2 separate regions of the Homo sapiens genome follow, and region 2 is linked to region 1. The links are contacts of gene promoters, found by promoter capture Hi-C in human tissues and cell types (Jung and others, 2019). All regions are on one chromosome and are shown on one strand. Each heading gives the region's core, a stretch centred on a gene start or on the middle of the fragment in contact. The rest is flanking DNA. Distances are from core to core; before and after follow the strand shown.

Region 1 (5,252 bases), core at 2,753-5,252:
GAACATACACACACACACAGGCACCAAGTGTTAATACTGATAGCGGCAATTCCAATTTCACACTACAAGGTTCATTCCAGTCTTCCTTCTTTTCATATTAGAACTCTATTCTTTAATAATGAAACCCCTAGCTCTCATTAGCTTCAATATATTTATTCATTTGTTCAATTCTACAATACACTACTCTAACCCCTGCTACTGAGGAAAACAATCTTTCTCATTGAAGTTCAAGATTTGTTTATGTGGTTTTTCTTTAGATCTTGGTTATATCATCAAAAGACAGAATTTGATAGTTATTTGAGTTTCTTTCTTTCTTTTTTTTAATATGTTATTCATCCCTCATGTGTGGTTATATTACTCACTTTAATACAGTTAGGTTCATTTGTTCCTGCTTTTATTCCATCCCCACTTCTCTCTCATTTATTTTATTTTATTTTACTTTAAAAAAATGTAAAACATTAACATTTCTCCAAAAGTCAAAACTCTATAAAAAGTTCTCAGATGAATGTCACTCCTCCAACCCTTCCACTCCATTCATATCCATCCCCTGCTAACCAACTAACCAGGTAACCAAGTTCATTAATTTTTGGTTTATCCATTCTGTGTTTATTTTTAGAATAAATAAGCATATACATGTAGACGTTTCTCATTTTTTTCTTTCTTACAGAAAAGGCAGACACTATATATATTCTTTGCTGTTTTCACTTAACGGTGTATCCTGCAAATATTCCATGTTCGTTCACAGACATCTTTGTCAGCTGTATAATGCTCCATTGTGTGAATGTACCATAATTTATTCAGTTTCCTGTGTATAGAAATTTATGTTGTTGCTAATATTTTGTAATTATAAATAATGAATAATGTGCAAATATACTCTTACTTTATTGGAGATGTATATCATGACCATTAAATCAGCTCTATTTCTTTTTCTCATATTGAACACATGTAGCAGCCTCAAAAGGTATGAACTCCTCATGTGTAAAAACAAAGGTTCCTGACAATATATCATCTGAAAACCTATATAGGGATTATATAGTCTGGAAAACTCAAACTACATTTTGTGGAAGTAGAAGTTGTACCACGTATTTGTATAACAGCAAGGCAAGTGTGGTCTCTAGGAAGCATAGGTAAAGTTGATTAGATTGCAATGTATACTTAAAAGTTGAATAATGCACTCTTGTAAAACACTCTTCAAAATTATTTAACTTCCCATGATATCATCACAGCATGTGCAAAAAAAAAAAATCTTTAGTGTTATCTTTTCCTGTCACATGACTAGTGCAAACAAAAGAAATTCTTATCTTTTTGTTTCTAGTCTGGTCCTTTATAAAACAGCATTAAGCACCATTCAAACTTACACATTAAAGGTTTGGTTTGGGAAAAAAAGATTTATTTTGTATTTCAGACCAATTATATTTGTTAAGTTAGAAAGCAAAAATTTTCACAACAACTAGAGTTTTCTAGCATATTCTATGCATAGAAAACTATAGTTTTAAAACCATTTTCCAATATATTTTTACATTTAAGTCTCATGGCAACTCTAGGCATAGTAGTTAGGCTGGAGTTATATTATCCTTATTTTACAAAAGAGAAAATAAAAGCATTTAGAGAATTTAAGGAAATTGGCCTGGGATGTTGGACTCTGGGCAAAACGGGGATTTAGGACCATATTTTTTCGCTATAAAGCAGGATGTGCCTATGTCTTATGGTCATTGTGGTGATCAAATAAGGTAATACACATGTAAATACCAAGGTGTACAAAGAGAAGGCGATTCTATTATGAAAGTATTTAAACTTTCATGACTATGAATAAGAAATTCCCCATTTTTTGTATATATATAAGCAATACAACAGATTTGAACAGTCTAACAGCTATAGCTCATACAGCAGGACTAAAGTGTTCATGTGGGAAAATAGTTTGTAGACTGAACTAGTACTTTTAGAAGCAGGTGATGATAATATATTTCCATTGTGGAATAATTAACAGCATTATATGTTGCACAGAACTTGGACCTTGAAACAAACCTCATTAAAAGGCACTTGATCTAAGTTTAAAACCCTTAAGTATCTCCTCTTTAAAAGTGATCAGTGGATGTACTGGCTACTTCAGTTATCCTGCTACGAGATTCACACAACTTTGATCTAAGTTTCTTTGATTTAACACTGCAATTAAGAAGATTTGGTTCAAAGTAAAAGCTCATTGGTTGATGTTTTACACTGATGTGATAATGTTTACACAGATGTGTTTGAAACCTTGATTATGGTGGATTTGGGGTCCTACCACAAGACAGACTGCTGTTATTTGAAAGGTGAAATAATACAACATTTACCTGGTGCAACCTTTAAAACAGACTTAGCAATATACGTTTCTAAAGTGATTTATCTGTTTATTGTTTTTAGCCAGCGTTTTTGTTTTATTTCATATCTATCAACAGTAAATCACTTGCTTTAAGAACTCTTTTATAACTTGGTTACACAAGGGTCAGTAGTTAGGCCTGTAGTGATGAAAATGTGTAACTATACCCACTTTAGAGCACCTGCCAATTAATTAGAAAAAATCCTTCAGAGCAAATAAAATAAACCAGTCAAATCCAACTGAGCTGCCAGGCTTATGCTTTTTTTAAACAGATCATGAAACAAGACTGAGAAAGTAATCTTCATCAGTTCCCTAAAACTTTTTGCTCAGAGGAAGCATAAATCTGCCCAATGATTCTCAATTCTTCTACCACTGAAAAATTTTAACAGAAAGATCTTGAATTTAACTAGTGGTGCAAAACCAGTTTCAACGTTTAAATGAACATGTATCTAATTCCTTGGCTTCCATGGTTTTTGATTTTACAAATATGCTCAAGCACTCTTCAATTTTACCAGTAACTTTTGAAGTCTCAAAACACATCAAGCCTCAAGACTATTTCCATTTAGTTATTTTTAGATTTTATAATTAAAATGTAAACAAAAACATCTAGCTTTTAGAAAAACGCAACTAAGAAAAACAGGAAAGTGCTCTTAGATTGTATAAGGGCCCAAGAAGCCACTCATCATTTATGACAATATTCCAGATATTCATTTTCTATTCACGGCAAAATATAGAGATGCAAATCATTTCTTTCCAGCCTATTTGGATTTACTGTAAATCCTTTGATTCGTGATTATATTTTGCTTTATTTTACACTAATTAGAAGTTCATGACCTTAGCACACAATTAAAAATACATATGTGTATTATGTATATATATATATGGCAATTTTGGTTATATTATGTGCTGAGTAAAGGTAAACATTAAAGAGAAATTGTAAAGAGGGGGAGGGAGGGTGTTCCTTACCTAACCTTGATTATGTAAAGAAAATCCCCCATCTAAATGATAAAAGAAAGGAGCAATGCTTGTACATTTTATTAGTGTTTTAAAATTAGTGAGTTAAACTGTCAAAGCTTTGATTTTTCTTTCATGTGTGTCTGGGCAGGTCTGTAAGCCCCAGGTAACGCCCTTTTTCCTTCTCCCTTGCTTACCTTTCTTTGCACCTGTCCACTGCAGGCTCCCAAGGAGTCCAATTCTCCTTTTCTCTTTCCTCCTCCTACCAATGCCCTCCTTCTCTTTCTCTCCCTCCCCGCCTTCCCTCCCTCCTCCCTTCCTCTTCTTCTATATCCCTGCCAAGTTGGGCTCCTTTTAGAGGCGATTTATCACTGCAAAGCTCACATCAAAGACGGTTGCACGGCCGCAGCTGAACAGCATCACCGCTGTCCCAAGGACAACCCCAAAGAGGGGCCTCGACTGCACCTCCTCGAAGTTGCTGGCTGGCTTTGGCCAAGTGCAGGAATGGTTTTTGTGAGGGCATGGATGGAGAAGTGCCAAGGGCCCCTTTTGGTCACTTCCGAAGAGCAAAAACGTGTTGAGAGGAGACCGGTTTAAGATTTCAAACAGAACCTCCCCAGCGCGCATGAAAGGACTTGATTAGCATATGTCAAGAGGACCCGCTTATATACTCGGTGTGTATGTACACAGGACTCTGATCTGATCAGTTTGCGGAATTGGAGCCCCAGCCAACAGCCCTAGTCCTAGTATTGGCAGCGGCAGCTATAGATATTTCTGCAGAGCCAGCAGCCGGCTCCCACCTACCCAAGGAGAGAAGATCGCTCCAAGACAGTGAGAGCTTCCCTGCCATTTCAGTGCAAAGTCCCTCCGGAGCGACCTCAGAGGAGTAACCGGGCCTTAACTTTTTGCGCTCGTTTTGCTATAATTTTTCTCTATCCACCTCCATCCCACCCCCACAACACTCTTTACTGGGGGGGTCTTTTGTGTTCCGGATCTCCCCCTCCATGGCTCCCTTAGCCGAAGTCGGGGGCTTTCTGGGCGGCCTGGAGGGCTTGGGCCAGCAGGTGGGTTCGCATTTCCTGTTGCCTCCTGCCGGGGAGCGGCCGCCGCTGCTGGGCGAGCGCAGGAGCGCGGCGGAGCGGAGCGCGCGCGGCGGGCCGGGGGCTGCGCAGCTGGCGCACCTGCACGGCATCCTGCGCCGCCGGCAGCTCTATTGCCGCACCGGCTTCCACCTGCAGATCCTGCCCGACGGCAGCGTGCAGGGCACCCGGCAGGACCACAGCCTCTTCGGTACGTACTAGCATCCCGACCCCACCCCCATCTGCGCCCCAGCTCGGCTCCTCGTTCCCTCCCCTTGCACCTCCCTCTTTGCCTGCCAAGGGCGTCATCGCCGCGCGGAGCCCGGAGCTCCCCTGGACCCATCCGGTGCAAGACGCAGGCTGGGGCTGAAGGGCTGGCCAGAGCAGCCGCGGGGAGAAATTTTCCTGCTGGTTTGTCGCCGCAGCCTCTAGCAGGGCAGCAGCTCCAGATGCTGGGGGCGGGAGGAGAAAGGGTGGGCGCTTCGCAAGCTCCTTCCTGCCTTCCCCTTGCCCTTCCCACTGCCGGGGACACCAAGACCTGGTGCACTCGGCATCACGGTTCTCGCACTGCTTACCTCGCAGTCAGTTTTAAAAAAAATCCCTGTATGTTTCTCTCCGATTTCCTTTCTCATTTTCCCCCATGCCGTCCACTTTACAAAAATTAATAACAGGAAGCGCCGGGCTTCTTTAAACATGCCCCACAGTTATGCAGCTGATTATGCACCCGGGGCTGCTCTGGGCATGGATTGCGAGCATTTACGTGTCTACCTAGAGACTTGCAAATGTTCACCTGAAGAGGTAGCAGATTAACTTTCCGTGGGCACATTCGCTACCTGTAGGGCTCACCTGTCTGAGGTTCCCTC
Region 2 (5,066 bases), core at 268-2,767, 40 kb after region 1:
AGGAGCCTGTGATGTGATTTTCCCACTGGGACTTCCCATAAATTCCACATGATATCTTTCCCAACCACTGATATCTCTAATATAAGAGGATCTCATGGCTCAAGCGGTAGGGCACAGCTTGATCCTTACAAACAGTCCTGAAATGTCTTTGGCTTGATTTTATTTTAACTCTGTTACTCTTTTAGCACCATTTCCAAGAGCTGTGAATAAGGATCTGAGCAAAGTGACTTCACAGGACAGAAGCTTTAGCTGAGCTGTCAGGTGAGACACCTGATATGGATTCTGGGGAGGGCTGTGTTTACTCTGTAGTTTCTGGAGGATACTATCTGCTGTCCTTAATAGACGAGTTGCTTATGTCCATAATGGGAATCCTGGTGGTGGTGGTAGGGCTGGTGTTAGAGTATGTGTATATATGTTTACTAAAATTGGAGTTGAGAGGGAAATACAGAAGAATAGCATAGAGGGATAGTAAAAGTCCTTCAAACTGGCTTCCTTTTTAAGCTAAGAAGGGGTAATGAGTTACCCTTTTGTATTTCCACTCCTCAGAGAGGCAAAAATGACCCCAGGTCTCCTACTACACCAAAATGGTAAAACATGGGAATAACATATACTGTTACTTTTCCTTGTTAGAAAAGAAAAATATGAAGTATTTATTCTAAAATCACAAATATTAGAATTTTTCGAGCTTGAGGACATCTTAGCTATCATCTCGTTCAATCTCTTCATTTTACAAATGAGGAAAATCTTTTATGGACTGTTCAATAAAACCATGAAACAGTTTTTTGTTTATAAGTTAGTAAGTGTATCCATATGCTTTTATACGGTTCTTTTATGATTTTGGCTAGCAATGATGAAATTAGCATGTTTTGATCTCTGTGCAACTTGTTCAGAAAGAACTTAAAAGAAGTATTTAGGAAAATCCAAGTGCTGAAACATTTAAGATATGCTTTGTGGTCTCAATTTTGTGTGATTGTCAGCCAGGAAGTTTTCTGATTGAGATGGCTTGCCAATTCCCTGCCAAATACATTATTTATTACACTAGTGGGGATTTCCTATTTGGGATGTTAAAGATAAAAATCTTACTGATAATATTTCCCATAAAATAATTGATGTAGGTCAATTGATACATTCTAATAAATTAAAATCAAGAACAAGACAGAGGTCCATAAAGACCTATAGGTATTTTATTGGCATATACTTATTCAAATATACCAGATTTAGTCATATTAAAGATTTCTGATTCACCGTTGACAGTGAAACTTGAAACTGAATGTAACTGAATTTATATTTCTTTTCTTAGATCTATTTCTTTGTAAGAATGAAATAACTTTTAGCAAGGACTGAATGTTGTTGGATTAAAGTGGCAGTTATGATACCATGGTGATGTATACGAAATTTTATAATTTCACGAGTTCGCTAAATTATAGGGAGACTTCTGCATCCTCGTGTGTTTCTGTGTATGTGTACATGTGTTTGTGTATGTGTACATGTGTATGTGTATGTATATGTGTATGTGTGCTTACAGTGATAACACCAAAGGGAGATGGGTTTCAAGCATCTAGTAAAGAATAAATACATGTAGGTAATTAAATTAACATATACTCTAAATTACACCTGGTTTTAACCAGGTAGCAAAAACATATATATTTTTTTTAAGAGGTAGTCTCATGCTTTCACTCAAGCTGGAGAGCAATGGCAAGATCATGGCTTACTGCAGGCTTGATCTCCTGGACTCAAGCAATCCTTCCACCTCAGCCTCCTGAGTAGGTAATAGCTGGTACTACAGGTACACACCACCAAGCTAAATTTTAAAAGTGATTTGTTGAAATGGGGTCTCTGTTTTGTTGCCTAGGCTGGTCTTGAAGTCCTGGCTTTAAGCCAGGGTGTCCAATCTTTTGGCTTCCCTGGGCCACATTGGAAGAAGAATTGTCTTGGGCCACACATAGAACAAACGAATGATAGCTGGTGAGCTAAAAAAAGAAAATCGCAAAAAAATCTCATAATGTTTTAAGAAAGTTTATGAATTTGTGTTGGGCCGCATTCAAAGCTGTCCTGGGCTTTATTCAAAGCCGTCCCGGGATGCATGCAGCCCGTGGGTTGTGGGTTGCTTTAAGTGATCCTCTTGCCTTGGCTTCCCGAAGTTCTGGGATTACATACATGGGCCACCAGCACTGGCCTGGAAAAGATTTTAATAATTACACATTTGTAATTTATTTGTAAAATTAAAATAAATTTTAAAATTGCAGTTTGTGGTCAGTGCTATGAAGGAAAAGAACAAGACTGTAAGAAAGATCAGCTGAGCGAGGTGGCTCACACCTCTAATAGAAGAACTTTGGGAGGCCGAGGAGGGCAGATCACCTGAGGTCAGGAGTTCGAGACCAGCCTAACCAACATGGAGAAACCCCATCTCTATTAAAATACAAAAAATTAGCCAGGTGTGGTGGCGCATGCCTGTAATCCCAGCTACTGTGGAGACTGAGGTAGGAGAATCACTTGAACCTGGGAGGCAGATGTTGCAGCGAGCCAAGATTGTGCCATTGCACTCCACCCTGGGCAACAAGAGCAAAACTCCATCTCAAAAAAAAAAAAAAAAAAAAAAAAGAAAAGAAAGATCACAGAGGCGTCTCCTTTAGTTGAGACAATCAGAAAAGGAAAGAAAAGATCTTTCTGAAGAATGAATAGGAGTTGAAAACAGAGTTTGTGCAGTTTGGATGTGGGAGGCAGGGTGTGTATAGACAGCGATCTAGACGATAGGATGATAAAGATCTTGCAGTTGGAAAACAGTGTGACATGTTCCAAAAACTAAAAGAAGGCCAGATGGCTAAATAGGTAGTGGGGCCAGCATAGCATGAGATGAAATTGAAGAGATTGACATGGACGGGCCATATCATGACAACCCCTATGGGCCACAGTGAGTTATTTGAGTCTCTTTTTAGTGCAATGGAAAGTCATAGAAGGATTTTAAGCAGGAGAGTGACACCATTTCATCTATACATTTAAAAGACCACATTGGTGCAGGATCTGTGGCTCATCCCTGTAAACCCAGCACTTTGGGAGGCTGAGGTAGGAGGATCGCTTGAGCCCAGGAGTTCAAAACCAGCCTGGGCAACATGGTGAAACTCCATCCCTATAAAAAAAAATACAAAAGTTAGCTGGGCATGGTGGTGCATGCCTGTAGTCTCAGCTACTTGGGAGGCTGAGGCAGGAGAACTCATTGAACTCAGAAGTTCTGGGTTGCAGTGAGCGGAGATCACGCCACTGTATTTCAGCCTGGGCAAAAGAGCCAGACTGTATCTCAAACAACAAAAACAAAAACAATAACAACAACAAAACCCCAAAAAACACATTGGCTGCAAAATAAACATTGGGTTAGACTGAGGTAAAAGTGGAAGAAAATAGAAATTGTTTGGAGAAAATTGCGTTAGCCTAGGTGAAAGAGTTGCAACAGTTTGGACTGGCATGTTGGCTATGAGAAGGGAGAGTAATGGGTGGACTTGGGGTATTTTGACGGTAAAATTAGTGGATCTTAGTGATACATTAAAGGTAGGGATAAGAGAGAGCTGTATCAAGCTATGCCCAGATTTTTGGCTCGAGTAAATAGATGTGTGTGTGTGTGTGTGTGTGTGTGTGTTTGTGTGTGTGTGTGAGACAGAGAGAGACAGAGAGAGAGAGAGGGAGTCTCATTTATTAAAATAATATGAGACTGGAGGATAAAAATTGTGTAGAAAATAACAAGTTCAGTTTTGAAATGTTCATTTTTTGATATGAGTGAGATGATCAAGTGACTAGGTCAAGTAAGGAATTGGATATATATGGGTCTGGAAATGTAGGCTAGAGATATAATTTTGGAATTATTGGCATATAGATGCTAGGGAGAAAAAAATGAAAGTTCTGAGTTACATGAGGTCAGATGGAAGAGAAAGATAATTTAAAGAGAGGGAAGGAGATGCTAGATAAGAAGAAAATCAGGAAAGTTTTGCATCACACAGATCAAAAGAGTATTTCTAGGAGTGAGTAATCAACTGTGTTGTATGCTACTGGAAGGTCAAAGAAGATGAGAGCTAAAAAACTATTAATCGCATTTGGCTACGTGGGAGTCAATGGCGGACTTCAAGAACAAGAGGGACAGATGTTATTTTGAAGTGAGTGGAAGAGTGAAAGCAAGATGAGCAGCAGGAGAAAAGATGTAAGACAAGTGGGGTGAATACTATTTTTTTTTACCCGTGGCTATTTCCCCAATACTAATGGAACCCCTGTTCTTTCAGTGGTATCGGAGTGCTCAGATTCCTTAAAGAAGCTTGTGCACCTTCCAAATTGTAGGGAGCGAATTGCTATTGTCCACATCAATCATAGTAGTGTCATTCATCTTGCCATATGATTGGTATATCCATGAGCATTTTACACAATCTTGCCAATATCTTCCTCCCAGTCTTAACATACGATAATACCCATATTCCAATAAAATATTATTGCATTTAACAAAACAGCTTTAATTTGGGGGTATAATTTCAAAACTTCAGTACTGCTTATAAGCAATTACTCTACCCTGAAAAATCTTTCACTATCTAACATGAAAAGAATTATAATTATTATAATTTATTGCTTTCTTGCTATATGCCAGACATGGTATAATGTGCTCTATGTATACAATATTTCAGCCAAACCCCCAACAACTTTGTGAAGCAACATTACTCTTATTTTTCAAACGAGGTATTTAAGACTTAGAGAAATTAAATACCCAAGGTGATAATCAGGTAAATGGGAGAAGCCATTGGTGACTTACTCAACCCATCAGAATCACTCATTCCCTACAAAATAAAATATACTTACTATTACATCTATTAAAGGGATGTTTTGCCCCTGTGCTCATCTATTCTTGCCTGTTTTCTTCCTTGCTCAGACTTGCCCTTTTGATTCTATTGGCTTTCAGCCAACTATTACACATGAAGATTAAATATGTTGATTTTACCAGGCAGAGCCTTCTGTAATGATAAGCTTTCTCTGAAGACATTGGAGAAGGGGTTGGGTTACTTAAGGACTGATCATAATAAGAAGCATAAATTAAC

Evidence for each region. The method cuts DNA at HindIII sites, captures the fragments that hold promoters and counts their contacts. A contact is called where the count stands out against the background at its distance.
Region 2: a fragment that was not itself captured here is called in contact with the fragment with the promoter of FGF20 in region 1 in 2 of the 25 tissues and cell types used here (pancreas and stomach).

Annotation. Positions count from the first base shown.
Region 1 is chr8:17,001,095-17,006,346 of GRCh38, reverse strand. FGF20 (fibroblast growth factor 20) reads left to right here and starts at 4,002. Exons shown (of 3, transcript NM_019851.3): 1 at 4,002-4,600. The coding sequence starts at 4,315. RefSeq lists a silencer at 4,416-4,485. The HindIII fragment of the contact is 12,794 bases long and covers 1-5,252 here.
Region 2 is chr8:16,959,197-16,964,262 of GRCh38, reverse strand. No RefSeq gene overlaps it. Among named protein-coding and RNA genes, the nearest start is that of FGF20, 41 kb to the left of the region's middle. The HindIII fragment of the contact is 6,259 bases long and covers 1-4,646 here.